4 separate regions of the Homo sapiens genome follow, and regions 2, 3 and 4 are each linked to region 1. The links are contacts of gene promoters, found by promoter capture Hi-C in blood cells and fetal thymus (Javierre and others, 2016). All regions are on one chromosome and are shown on one strand. The core of a region is centred on a gene start or on the middle of the fragment in contact, and the rest is flanking DNA. Distances in the headings are between cores, read along the strand shown.

What was found. Contacts are between HindIII fragments. The CHiCAGO score rates a contact against its expected background, and 5 or more counts as called.
Region 2: a fragment that was not itself captured here is called in contact with the fragment with the promoter of SIGLEC8 in region 1 in 1 of 17 cell types (erythroblasts); the score reaches 5.3 in erythroblasts.
Region 3: a fragment that was not itself captured here is called in contact with the fragment with the promoter of SIGLEC8 in region 1 in 6 of 17 cell types (fetal thymus, neutrophils, erythroblasts and 3 more); the score reaches 6.0 in fetal thymus.
Region 4: a fragment that was not itself captured here is called in contact with the fragment with the promoter of SIGLEC8 in region 1 in 7 of 17 cell types (erythroblasts, monocytes, total B cells and 4 more); the score reaches 8.4 in erythroblasts.

What each region holds. Positions count from the first base shown.
Region 1 is chr19:51,456,890-51,459,908 of GRCh38, reverse strand. It overlaps SIGLEC8 (sialic acid binding Ig like lectin 8), which reads left to right and starts at 1,455. Exons shown (of 7, transcript NM_014442.3): 1 at 1,455-1,975; 2 at 2,170-2,448; 3 at 2,678-2,725. The coding sequence starts at 1,522. The HindIII fragment of the contact is 20,005 bases long and covers 1-3,019 here.
Region 2 is chr19:51,596,008-51,599,369 of GRCh38, reverse strand. It overlaps the pseudogene LOC339352. Among named protein-coding and RNA genes, the nearest start is that of LINC01530, 3.3 kb to the right of the region's middle. The HindIII fragment of the contact is 468 bases long and covers 1,516-1,983 here.
Region 3 is chr19:51,327,459-51,330,682 of GRCh38, reverse strand. IGLON5 (IgLON family member 5) reads right to left here. Exons shown (of 8, transcript NM_001101372.3): 7 at 2,797-2,951; 8 at 1-2,012. The coding sequence ends at 1,924. Among named protein-coding and RNA genes, the nearest start is that of VSIG10L-AS1, 11 kb to the left of the region's middle. RefSeq lists an enhancer at 1,503-2,425. The HindIII fragment of the contact is 3,886 bases long and covers 1-3,224 here.
Region 4 is chr19:51,681,845-51,684,859 of GRCh38, reverse strand. It overlaps a transcript of SPACA6 not described here. Among named protein-coding and RNA genes, the nearest start is that of MIR99B, 9.3 kb to the left of the region's middle. The HindIII fragment of the contact is 3,112 bases long and covers 31-3,015 here.

The DNA of each region.
Region 1 (3,019 bases), core at 206-2,705:
CTCCCAGGATCCCCCTTAACTTCTTCCCAGCCCCCAGCCACACAGTTTAAAATAATCTGTTGAGGCCAGGCACGGTGGCTCACACCTGTAATCCCAGCACTTTGGGAGGCTGAGGTGGGTGGATCATGAGGTCAGGAGATCCAGACCATCCTGGTCGACATGGTGAAACCCCGGCTCTACTAAAAATACAAAAATTAGCTGGATGTGGTGGCGTATGCCTGTAATCCTAGCTACTTGGGAGGCTGAGGCAGGAGAATCGCTTGAACCAGGGAGTCAGAGGTTGCAGTGAGCCGGGATCGCGCCACTGCACTCCAGCCTGGCGACAGAGAGAGACTCCGTCTCAAATAATAATAATAATAATAATAATAATAATCATCATCATCATCATCATCATCATCATCATCTGTTGAATTCAGGTGCACATTTCTTCTCTCAAGAAATCCTGCCCATCGCTGAAGGTGCACACCCCAGGGCTGGTGTCCTCGTTCCATGACACCTGTTCACCTGGACCCCTGGAAGCAGAGCCTGCAGGAGCAAAGCCCCAGGGCTGACAGACCCCGCCTGCTGTGCAGTAACCAGGGGAAGTGTGGCTGAGTAAGATACGGGTGGTGAAGAAACCCATTCTGATACCCAGATAGCTGCAACAAAGGGAGAAGTGTGTGCCCTTTTCAAATTGACCCTTTCCCTTCTGACATTTCTCCCTTCCAAACCCCACAGTACAACAGTTACAGCCTCAGTTTCCCAGGCCTCCTGCGAGCCAGGCTTCCCCCCGCCCCCCGTCCTTCGTGTGTATCAACATGCAGAATCCTCACCTCCACAGCCCCGTGTCCCTCTGCTCAGGCCTCCTGAGACTGAACCCCTGACCTAGGGGAGAACGACCCCACCTTGCCTGTGCCCCCCACTGAAGCTCCCGTCCTGGGGAGCTCAGACGTCAGGAGCCTCCGTGTCTCCCCTCTGCACAGTGACTCCTTGAGGACAGTGTCTGGCTCTGCTCTGTTGACCTCGTTGTGTAAAGAGGAGGTGCCCACTTCGTTGCTGCTGAGAGAGGGAGGAGAGGCTGCCTGCTCACCTCACCTGCACCCCAGTCTCTCATGGCCCTGAGTTCCACCTTTGGCTGGTATGACCTCCACAAACAGTGACAGCCCCGGGGGTGATTCAGGGGTCTGGCCAGATGGGACCCAATTTCACCTTGCAGAAAATGTTACCCAAATGGAAGGGCAAGTCCGGGAAGCAAGAAAGAGGTTGGGCCCTGCATAGGGTGGGAATCTGGATGAGTTTCTCACCCTCTCTGGCCTCAGGGTTCCCAGGAGTGGAAATGGGGTGGTGGACAGTGGATCTCCCAGGACTGACCCGGCCCTGACAGTGTCTGTGTGTGAAGTTCCTCCTCTGAGGAGGTCACTTTTCTGACTTCACCCCCAACCTCCTGCGGGACCTCCCCTAAGTCTTGAGACCTCAGTTTCTGAGAGAAGAACCCTGAGGAACAGACGTTCCCTGGCGGCCCTGGCGCCTTCAAACCCAGACATGCTGCTGCTGCTGCTGCTGCTGCCCCTGCTCTGGGGGACAAAGGGGATGGAGGGAGACAGACAATATGGGGATGGTTACTTGCTGCAAGTGCAGGAGCTGGTGACGGTGCAGGAGGGCCTGTGTGTCCATGTGCCCTGCTCCTTCTCCTACCCCCAGGATGGCTGGACTGACTCTGACCCAGTTCATGGCTACTGGTTCCGGGCAGGAGACAGACCATACCAAGACGCTCCAGTGGCCACAAACAACCCAGACAGAGAAGTGCAGGCAGAGACCCAGGGCCGATTCCAACTCCTTGGGGACATTTGGAGCAACGACTGCTCCCTGAGCATCAGAGACGCCAGGAAGAGGGATAAGGGGTCATATTTCTTTCGGCTAGAGAGAGGAAGCATGAAATGGAGTTACAAATCACAGTTGAATTACAAAACTAAGCAGCTGTCTGTGTTTGTGACAGGTAAGGCACGGGCTCCAGCACAGGCCACAGGGGAAGGTCATGAGGGGCTGAAAGGCAGGGCTGGGATGGGGCCTGGGAGGGGGTTGGGATTGAAATAAGTCGGTCTCCGGGGAGGAGCTGGACCAGAGCTTGAGCTTCCTCCAGGGCTGCACCTGAAATACCTCCTCCTGATCCTGTGTCCCCATCTTCACCAGCCCTGACCCATAGGCCTGACATCCTCATCCTAGGGACCCTAGAGTCTGGCCACTCCAGGAACCTGACCTGCTCTGTGCCCTGGGCCTGTAAGCAGGGGACACCCCCCATGATCTCCTGGATTGGGGCCTCCGTGTCCTCCCCGGGCCCCACTACTGCCCGCTCCTCAGTGCTCACCCTTACCCCAAAGCCCCAGGACCACGGCACCAGCCTCACCTGTCAGGTGACCTTGCCTGGGACAGGTGTGACCACGACCAGTACCGTCCGCCTCGATGTGTCCTGTGAGTGCTGGACCAAGATGCCCAGGTCCCTCATGGGTTGGGAGGTGTTCCTGAGGGCAGGGGATGGGGTTCAAGCCTGGACACTGGGTTCTGGGTCCCAGAATCTGGGCTGGGAGTGGGGTCAGGAGAATGCCGACTCCATTTTCCCTGTATTTGCAGCTCCTGGGAAGACAGGGCCAATGTCCCCAGTCCTTATAGTAATGTGGGTCTTCATGTCTTTCTGTCCCAGACCCTCCTTGGAACTTGACCATGACTGTCTTCCAAGGAGATGCCACAGGTAGGACAGAGCCCCCTCCCTGGGGTTGGGGGAGCAGGGCCTTCAGCTCAGGATGGGGCTGGGTCTCTCCTCATCCTGGAATCACTTTGGGAAACAGAGCTGCCACTGTGCGTGAGCCCAGGGCACAAGAGCCCACATCTCCAGCCCGCGTGACCATCTGAGCCCCTGTCCCCATCCTGTCCCTGCTCCCCTTAGACTCCTCCACACACCCCTTCCTTGGCCCCACAGCAAGGACAGGGTGACATTCACACAGCTGGATCAGACTCCCAATTTTTTTGGTTTTTGTTCGTTTTT
Region 2 (3,362 bases), core at 500-2,999, 140 kb before region 1:
AAAGAGCGAGCTGCAGCAAGATTTATTGTGAAGAGCAAAAGCACAAATCTCCCACAGCGTGGGAGGGGACCCAAATGAGTTGCCGCTGCAGGCTCGGTGGCTAGCTTTTATTCCCTTATTTGGCCCCACCCACATTCTGCTGATTGGTCCATTTTACAGAGCACTGATTGGTTCATTTTACAGAGCGCTGATTGGTCCATTTTACAGAGTGCTTATTGGTCTGGTTTTACAGAGTGCTGATTGGTCTGGTTTTATAGAGTGCTGATTGGTGCGTTTACAAACCTTTAGCTAGACACAGAGCACTGATTGGTGTGTTTACAATCTTTTAGCTGGACGGAAAAGTTCTCCAAGTGCCCACCTGACCCAGAAGCCCAGCCAGCTTCATCTCTCACTAAGATGATGTCAGAGACCCAGAGGCTTGAAAAACCTGCCTTACTCCATCGTAGGGAGCCACACGTACTACCCACATGAGCCTTCAGTAGGCTCCGGCCCTAAATAGGCACATGCGTATTTCCCCAGCTCCTTACTGGGATCCTCCCGCTAAGCCACGCCCGATGCCCTTGTCTACAGCCATGAGCTGCAGTAAGATGCCCAGGCCCGGTGCCAGCGTGCGCAGCACGTGTGCCAGCACCGTGGAATCCTTGCCGCCCGAGGTGCCCAGGGCCACCACTGCGCCTGGCGGCAGCAGGTAGCCCACAAGCACCATGTGCTGCACCTCCGCCTCGAAGGCGGTGCAGAAGCAGGAACCGCACAGCACTTGGCCCGAGCATGGACGGCGGAGGGAGGCGCATGCCACGTGGCAGGAGGCACATGACGGGGCGGGCATTGCAAGAAGGGACAGCTTCTCCTAGACCGGGAGAGGAGGCGGGTTACACATGTTTCATTGCCTTTGAGGAGTTCCCTAGATAGTGCCCCTGCCTGGAATAGACCAGGGGCAGCTGTGGCTGCTGCTCTTATATACGTGGGTTATAAATGGGTTCTGGTGTAAGAAGGCCACTGCCTCCAGGAAGGCTTCCTGGACTGCACCCATTATGCACCAAGAAGAGAAGGAACTTAAGCTGATTTCAGGGGGAAAAAGAGGGAGCAACAAGCAGGTTATACCCAGAATTAGATCGTGTCCTGTCCAAAGGGGTGAGGGCGTCTATTAAGGACCAGTTGTAACAACTTCCAGGAGGCCACCCATGTTACAGCCCTGATCAGAAGGTAGATATTACTGACTATTCAGAGAGATTGGGAGGGGAGGGGTCAGAGACTCTTAAGGACAGAGGGAGGTCATGCTCTGTTCAAGGGAAGGGGGCTATACAGAAAAGACCAATTGGATTTCACTTTCAGGGGTCGGGGTGGGCATTCTGTCTCCAGGAATGGGTCCTGATTGTGTCTTACAAGGACATACACAGGCAGGCTAGATCAACCTCTAGGGAGACTAGCAGGGGTTGCACCTATTTTTGAGGTGAGGGTGTGTAGGCCTCCAGTTCTGAACTTAACCCCGCTCTGGTATCAGAATCCACCTAAGCTTCTGTGGCCCCCGAAAGACACAGAGAGGTTGGGAGGGGAGGGGTCAGTGATGGGGTTGGCTCATCCTTGGCCCCCAACTGTTCTCTTTCCTACCTCATCCCTCCCCACCCAGCCAAGACTCTAACTGTCCCATCGAACCTCCTTCGTCCCACTTGTCTGGTGAACCCATAAAAACTCCCCAGGCTTAGTCCCCCTCCTCAAGCCACCACCACCTCCAGCCTGCACTACTGCCGTCACATCCTTGCCATTCAGAGCAGGTCACGCTGCTTCTAGGATTTACCACAATGTGTGGAATTATTTCATATGACTGTGTATTTACCGTCTCTAACTTACATGCAAGTAAAGACCAGTGCCACTCAGATGTCTAATAAGCATCTCAAAACCCAAATTCCTGATTCCTCTAACCTAACGGGCTTCTCCTGGAGTACAGGGCAGCTCCATCCCTTCCAGCTGCTCAGGCCAGAAGCTTTGGGGTCCAGGACCCTGGACTGCTCTTTCTATCACTACAGTTGTCACTCTCCCAGTGGGTGGAGCCAAATTGCAATGCTAAGTCCGGACCCTTTCAAACTCCAGGTGCTCAAATGAAAAGTCACACATATTGTTTGACTATAGCTTCAAAACAGCCAAACACTTCTGACCATCTCCATGGCAGCACCCTAGTCAGGTCTGCCTCTCTCCTAGATGGCTGCAGGGGGCTCCTCACAGGTCTCCATGCTCCCTGCCTTGCCTCCTCCACACACACTCCTTCATATAACAGCCAGTGGGATCCTGCCCTGCATCTCATCTCACTTTAGTAACTACTGGCTGGGCACAGTGGCTCACGCCTGTAATCCCAGGACTTTGGGAAGCCGAAGCGGGTGGATCACAAGGTCAGGAGTTCAAGACCAGTCTGGCCAAGATGGTGAAACCCTGTCTCTACTAAAAATACAAAAAAATTAGCTGGGCATGGTGGTGGGCACCTGTAATCCCAGCTACTTGGGAGGCTGAGGCAGAGAATTGCTTGAACCTGGGAGGCGGAGGTTGCAGTGAGCCGAGATCGTGCCATTGCACTCCAGCCTGGGTGACAGAGCGAGACTCTGTCTCAAAAAAACAAAAAACAAAATGTAACTGCTAATGGCCGACGAGGCCCTACAGGCTCTGGCTCCTTGTTTCTCTGTCCTCATCTCCTTCCACTCTCCTTCTTGCTTACTGGTGTCTACTCTTGAGTACCCCCAGGAACACTCTTGTCTCTAGTTGTTTTCACTGGCTCTTCTCTTTGCCCAAAGCACTCTTCCCTGTCACTGAGCCATCAAGCAGCCCTCAGGACTCAACTGCGGTGATGTCAGGTACATCTGTCACAGCGGAGCAAAGTCCCCTTTGAAATACTTTCTCCCACAGCTTTTGATTTAGTCCTCCCTCTTTGTTCTTGTTTTTTGCCTCCTGCTTAATATCTTCTGGGGAGGCCTCTTCACAGTCCTCATATCCTGCCCATCACCCCTCTTCTCATTCTGTTTGTGGGTGACTCTGAATCGCAATGTCCACCAGCCTGGCCCTCCAAATGCCCCACGGAAGATCCCATCTAGGCCTCTCATATCTCAGTGCCCAACTGACCAGCTCTCACACCCCAAGGCAGAAACTTACCTAACCAAGCTCCCCGTCTCCCGGAAGCAACACCACCTTTCACCCAGCTTCTCTATGGAAGACAACTCAGCTTTTTCAACCTCTGAATCTGCAGTCACCTAGTACTGGGGTTCACTTCCTGAGGTCCTTATCAGATCCAGTTGCATCCCTGTTTTAGTTACCTACTCACCTCAGCCAGATGAACTTCCCATTGGTTTTTCAACCCCTTGCATCTTTGGCCAGGCTGA
Region 3 (3,224 bases), core at 123-2,622, 130 kb after region 1:
GTGATGGAGAAAAGCAACCCTACAGATGTTGACTTCACATCACGGAGCCACAATATCCAGCAGAAAAGCATCTCTTCTTGGGAATCCATTCACTTTCTCATTAGCCTTACTGGGTCATGTGCCCATCTCTGAGCCAATCACGGTGGGAAATGGGCTATGCTGGGTGTCTTCGGCCAATCACAGGGCATCTCTGTAATGAGTCCATTCCAAGTCTACCAGTGAGAAAGTAGGCGGTAGGAATGATGCTGGAGAGGCACCACCAATTGACTGCTACCCTTTGCCCTTCATTAACTCTAATCCTTAATGACATTGACACCTGCAGGCAGACTTTGGAAAAAGGCGTTTATTGGTGTGGTGGTCTCAACACTCCCCATGAATTGGAACACATGGCCCCCAGGGCCCCCCACCCCCTCCCTAGCATCCCTCCCCTGTCCCACCCCATCCCCTGGACCCTGGGAATGGAAGACAATGTGGGATGGGGCCCATGCCCCCGTCTGAGGTACAGTCACTGCGCCTTGCCCTCTCCTTTTCTCCACCAGACTCTGGGTGGTGTGGTTTGGGGTGGGTGTTTATATAGAGGGTCTCCTGGGAGTCGGAGTTGGTGACATGGCATCTTTGTCTGGGCTCAGGATGTCTGTGTGATGCCTCTCTGTCCCCCACTTTGTGTGGTGTGGTGTACCAGGGTGGAGTGTTCCTACAGTCAGAGCTGAGGCTGCGGCCTCTCAGCGTCCCTTCCTGACACCAGATGCCTACCCAGGGGGAAATACAGCTAGTCACCAGCTACCGGACAGCTGGAGCCAGGGGGCTATTGCTGGTCACAGTCGCTGGTGTGTGTGTGTGTGTGTGTGTGTGTGTCTGTGTGTGTGTATGTGTGTGTGGTGCGTCTGAGTGTCTGTGAGGGCGGTCAGGTAGCCTTTGGGAGGTACAGTTGGTGGAGAGGCCAGGAAGTGATAGACCAGCAAGCTCACACCTGTGGGCCAGCTGCAAAGGCCCCAAGGGCAGCTGGCTGGTGCCGCAGGTGGGGAAATCAAGGCCAAGGGGAGTGGTGGCAAGGGTAGGGCAAAGCACTGAAACAGACAGGTGACTCCTGCCACCAGTCTGACAGTTGGATGGAAGCACCGATTGGCCCAGGAGGGGGCCAGAAAATCCAGGGTGTGGAGGGACAGGAAAAGTGGGAAGGTCTCAGGCCACTGAGCCAGCGATGGGGCCTCTGGCTACAGGAAGCTGGTGGTTGACAGCAGGGAAGCCCAGAGCCTAGATGGAGGTCCCCCACTTACTCACAAAGGCTGAATGACAGCTTGACAGGTGAGTGCGATGCCCCTCCCCACTCCCAACCTGCCAGGAGTTGCCCTTTCGACAGGGGGAGGGGTAGTGTGCGTGCATATATTGGGGAAGCAGGGAGCCTGGTAAGCCTCTCTTCACAGCTTCCACTGCAGAGCCTCATACCTACCTCCAGCCAGAGGTGAGAGGCAATAGGGTTGGGGACAGTGGACATGGGGGTTTTGGGGGCGGGAGGACGGCTGAGTCCCTTCCCCCAGCCCACCCCCCCACACACACACAAACAGAGACACAGACACCTACACATGCATGCAGGCTCACACTCACACACCCACACCCACACAAGCCAGTTGACAGCCTGAGCTAAGAGAGAGGGGTATGGGGTGGCGGGAGTGGGTCACAATCGGAAACGTGAACGGGTGGCGAGAATGGCTGTAGAAAGATGCATAATTTTGCGTTATCCCTCACAGTGATGGGTTCTCTGAAGATCTTTCTTCCTCTGCCTCCTCCTCTTCTCCTCTCTCTTCTTCCTTGGTGGCCGAGAGCTCTTCTGCCCCCACGAGACCCACGGCTCTTGCTCCCCCGTTTCTCTCACTCTTGGCCTGAGGCCCCCTGCAGGGGGAGGTGAGCTCCACTGGGTTGCGCCTACATTCTCCACCACAGCCAGCCCAGGGCGGAGAGGAGGGCCAGGAGCCCTGGGGGCCTCGGGGCTGAGTTCTCCAGGGATCCTGGGCCTGGGGGAAGAGAAGGGGTCATGGAGGGAGGCCTGAGAGTGGGGAACCCCATGTGTGTCTCTCCAGGGGCCCCATCTCTTCTGAGCCCACTCTTTAGCGTCCTTTCTGGATCTCTCATTGGGTGTGCCTGCTTTTCTGACTCTGTTTCTTTTTTTTTTTTTTTTTCTTTTTTTGAGACGGAGTCTCGCTCTGTCACCCAGGCGCAATCTCGGCTCACTGTAACCTCTGCCTCCCAGGTTCAAGCAATCCTCTTGCCTCAGCATCCTGAATAGCTAGGACCACAGGTGCCCATCACTACGCCTGGCTAATTTTTGTATTTTTTTTTTTTTTTGGTAGAGACATAGTTTCACCATGTTGGACAGGCTGGTGTCAAATTCCTGACTTCAGGTGATCAGCCCGCCTCGGCCTCCCAAAGTGCTGGGATTTACAGGCGTGAGCCACCACGCCCGGCCTCCAAAATTATTTTTTGTTTATGTATGTGTTTGCTTATTTACCTACATGACCACTTGTTTATTGCTTTTCTACTCCTACTAGACTATAAGCTCTGCGAATCCCCAAACCTTGTTTCTTTTGTGCACAGCTGCGTCCCCCACGACAAACCCTTAGCTGGCACTCAATGAATATTGATTGCGTGGATCGGTTTCTTACTCGCATTGCTTTTCAGTCTCAGCGTCCATCTCCTAAGTTCAGGGCCAGCCTGAAGGGCGGTCCCGGCGTCTCCACTTCCCTAGCCCCGCCCCCGGCCCCGCCCACCTTCCCGGCCCCGCCCCGCCCGAAGACGCACGCAGGAGCCGCATGGAGGCGCTGGACGCTCCCAGTCGGTTGGCGGCGCGACACGTATAGTTGCCGTAATGCCGGGCGCTCACGTTGGCAAAGAGAAGCATCGAGCGGGTGCGCTCCGTCTGCACCTTCAGGCCTTCGGCCGTGCCGCTGCTCAGCCTGCCAGGGATCCGGGTCAGGGGCCGGGCCGCAGCGCCCAGCCAGGCCAGCCCCCCGACTCTCAGGCTCCTCCGTTCCCCGGTGACCCAGCATTCTGCCCCCTACCCCAGTGACCCATCGCCTCGGGTTCTAGCACCTCATGTACCTCGGGTCACTCCCACCGCCGCCCCCCTCCAGGCACCCTGGCCTCTCAGGACTCTGGACTCTCCCGTAGTGCACCCCTAGTCGTTAGGGACTCCTGAACTCTGCTGGTCCCCTAAATCTTGCCCGACA
Region 4 (3,015 bases), core at 337-2,836, 220 kb before region 1:
CTAAAATCACGAGATGATCTAAATCAAGCTTGTCCAACCCACAGCCCATGGGCCTCATGTGGCCCAGGATGGCTTTGAATGTGGCCCAACACACATTCATAAACTTTCTTAAAACATTGAGGTTTTGGGTTTTTTTTGCAAATTTTTTTAAGCTCATCAGCTATCATTAGTGTTAATGTATTTTATGTGCAGCCCAAGACAATTCTTCCAGTTTGGCCCAGGGAAGCTGAAAGATTGGACACCCCTGAACTAAAAGCAGCAGATTCTCCTATTACACCATTAAATAACCCCAAATGGTAATTTGCCCCTGGTGGACTTGTAGGAAGTAGAGACAGGGTCCCCATTGTTGTCGGGTCTGGGCTGGGGGAAGTGGGGAGGCAACAGATCTCATTTCCACAATTAATTATTTTCTGAACAAAGGGCATGGGAAAATGGGTGTGATGTTTTGGGGAGGGTTTCCCTATAGCCTTTCTCTTCACCTTGGGCCATACCTTCTTTTTGTTTGATGAGTGAAGGACCTTCAGCTGCTCTGCTGTTTACATCTAAGAAAAAGGTAGGGAAGGTTACACTGAGGTTCAAGGAGACAGACTAGTTATAGTTTTTGCAAGTCCGTCAGCTGCCATCTCCTCCTACCTCTGATAATAGATCATCTCTTTCCTTTAAGTAACCCACTCCACATGACTCTGACAAGAATGTCCAAGCACTGATGCCCCTCCTTCTCCCCCCAAAAAAACCTAGTCTGGGCATCTGGGTATATGACACAAAATAGGCCAACCAGAATATTTATCATTCATTGTCTGTGAGCCCTGACAGAGCTGGTTAGAATCCAAGATTTTATTTTTGATCTTGATACTTTAATTTTATGTCTTCTAAAATATAAATGTATACATATGCATTTGTACACATATATATTGTTTTAGTTTCTGAAGAACAGAGTCATACTACATATGCCAAGGTGATTAAGAGCACAGATTCTGAAGCCCGATGGCTCAGGTTTGAATCCTGGCTCAGCCATTTTACTAGCTATGTCTCTCTATGTCTCAGTTTCATCATCAGTAAAATGGGTGTAATAATAATAGTACCTATATCATGGGTTGAGACATAAGGATTAAAGGAGTTAATGTATGGAAAGTGCTTAAAACAGTGCCTGGCACACAATAAACCATATAAAAGAATTATCGAATGTTATGCCTACAAATTAATACAGAGCTAGCTCTTTATTCTAATTTATTCATACACATGCACAGAATTTTATATTAACAGGGCAATTTATTCTTATGAAGGTATTTTTACTGTATTCTTTCCCATCCTCATTTATTTTTTTCTTTGGTTACCTTGATTGACCCCTCCCTTCCTACCCATTCACCAGGTGCTTCTCCTCCCAAAGTTATCTGTCATACCTGTTGTGAGTTAAATTGTGTCCCCACCCCACCAAATATATATGTTAAAGTTTGAATCCCCTGTACCTGTGAATGTGACCTTCTTTGAGAGCCTTTACAGATGTAATCAAGTTAAAATGAAGGCATACTGGATTAGAGTGGGCCCTAAATCCAATGACTGGTAATCTGATAAGGAGAGAGATATTTGAAGATGCAGATAAAATACTTGGGAAGAAGGCCATGTGATGATGGAGGCAGAGAGATTCAAGTGATGCATCTACAAGCCAAGAAACACCAAGGATGACTGGCAACCACCAGAAGCTAGAACAAGAAACCAAGGGGCCTACAGAGGAAGCTGGTCCTGCTGATACCTTCATTTCTAACTTCTAGCCTCCACATCTGCGAGAGAATACATTTCTGTTTTTGCTTGTTTGTTTTGAGGTGGAGTCTCCCTCTGCCACCCAGGCTGGAGTGCAGTGGCATGATCTTGGCTCACTGCAGTCTCCACCTCCTGGGCTCAAGTGAGTCTCCTGCCTCAGCCTCCCAAGTAGCTGGGACTACAGTCACCTGCCACCATGCCTGGCTAATTTTCGTATTTTTAGTAGAGACAGGATCTTACCATGTTGGCTAGGCTGGTCTCAAACGCCTGACCTCAAGTGATCTGCCCGCCCTCAGTCTCCCAAAGTACTGGGATTACAGGCATGATACACTGTGCCCGGATAATTTCTGTTGTTTTAAGCTGCTCAGTTTATAATACTTTATTACAACAGCCCTAGAAAACCAATATAGTATCCATGTTTATCTGTGTGTCTTGTCATTCTTTACTTCATGTTTAAGTAAACATACATACACACACAAACATGCACATAGTTGGGTTGCATTAAAATTCAGCTTCAGCCTCAATATTTGTTCATTTTTTTCTATTTGACTTTGATCTCACCTCAGTCTTTTGGAGGTGGAACCACTGAGTGCCAATTTGAAGTTCATTTCTGGCATCCCTGAACTTGTGTGGTCACGATGAATACATGACAGATTGGGTTACCAGCCTATCTAACTAGCACAATAACATTAGAAATATGAACAAATCATGTTCCTAACTTTAAAATCTTAATAGTCACCTTCAAATTTAAGCATTCTAATGTAGCTTGGAGTGAACATCGTGTGTGTGTTCAAAGTTAAATTTTTATCAAAGTATAAATGTGTGTGTAATTATACAATTACAGGAGTAAGAGGCTGAAATAAATAATGGTGATTGTGAAAACCTATAAGTTACAGATGATTCTTCAGGAAACTGACTCTGAAGCAGAGGTTAGAACTCCCCTACAAGTGTGAATCCTGAGAACACCCCTATTAATTTCCTGCTCTCAGGATTCACACTCGTAGGGGAGCGAAGGAAGTAGGATTAGGCAGTGGGAGAAGGTGAACTACTATGCAGTCATAACAGAAGCCCCAGCCAATCCTACAGGAAACTCTACAGCTAGATGGCTCCACAGAGATGTCCTGAATCGGGGAAAGGGGACTGGGCCTTTATACCATTCACTGACCTATTAAAAGAAGAACTTCAGACAAATTAAATTGAACACAGTTTATTTGAGTAGAGAACAATTCATGAGTAGGGCAACACTCAGAATCAGAA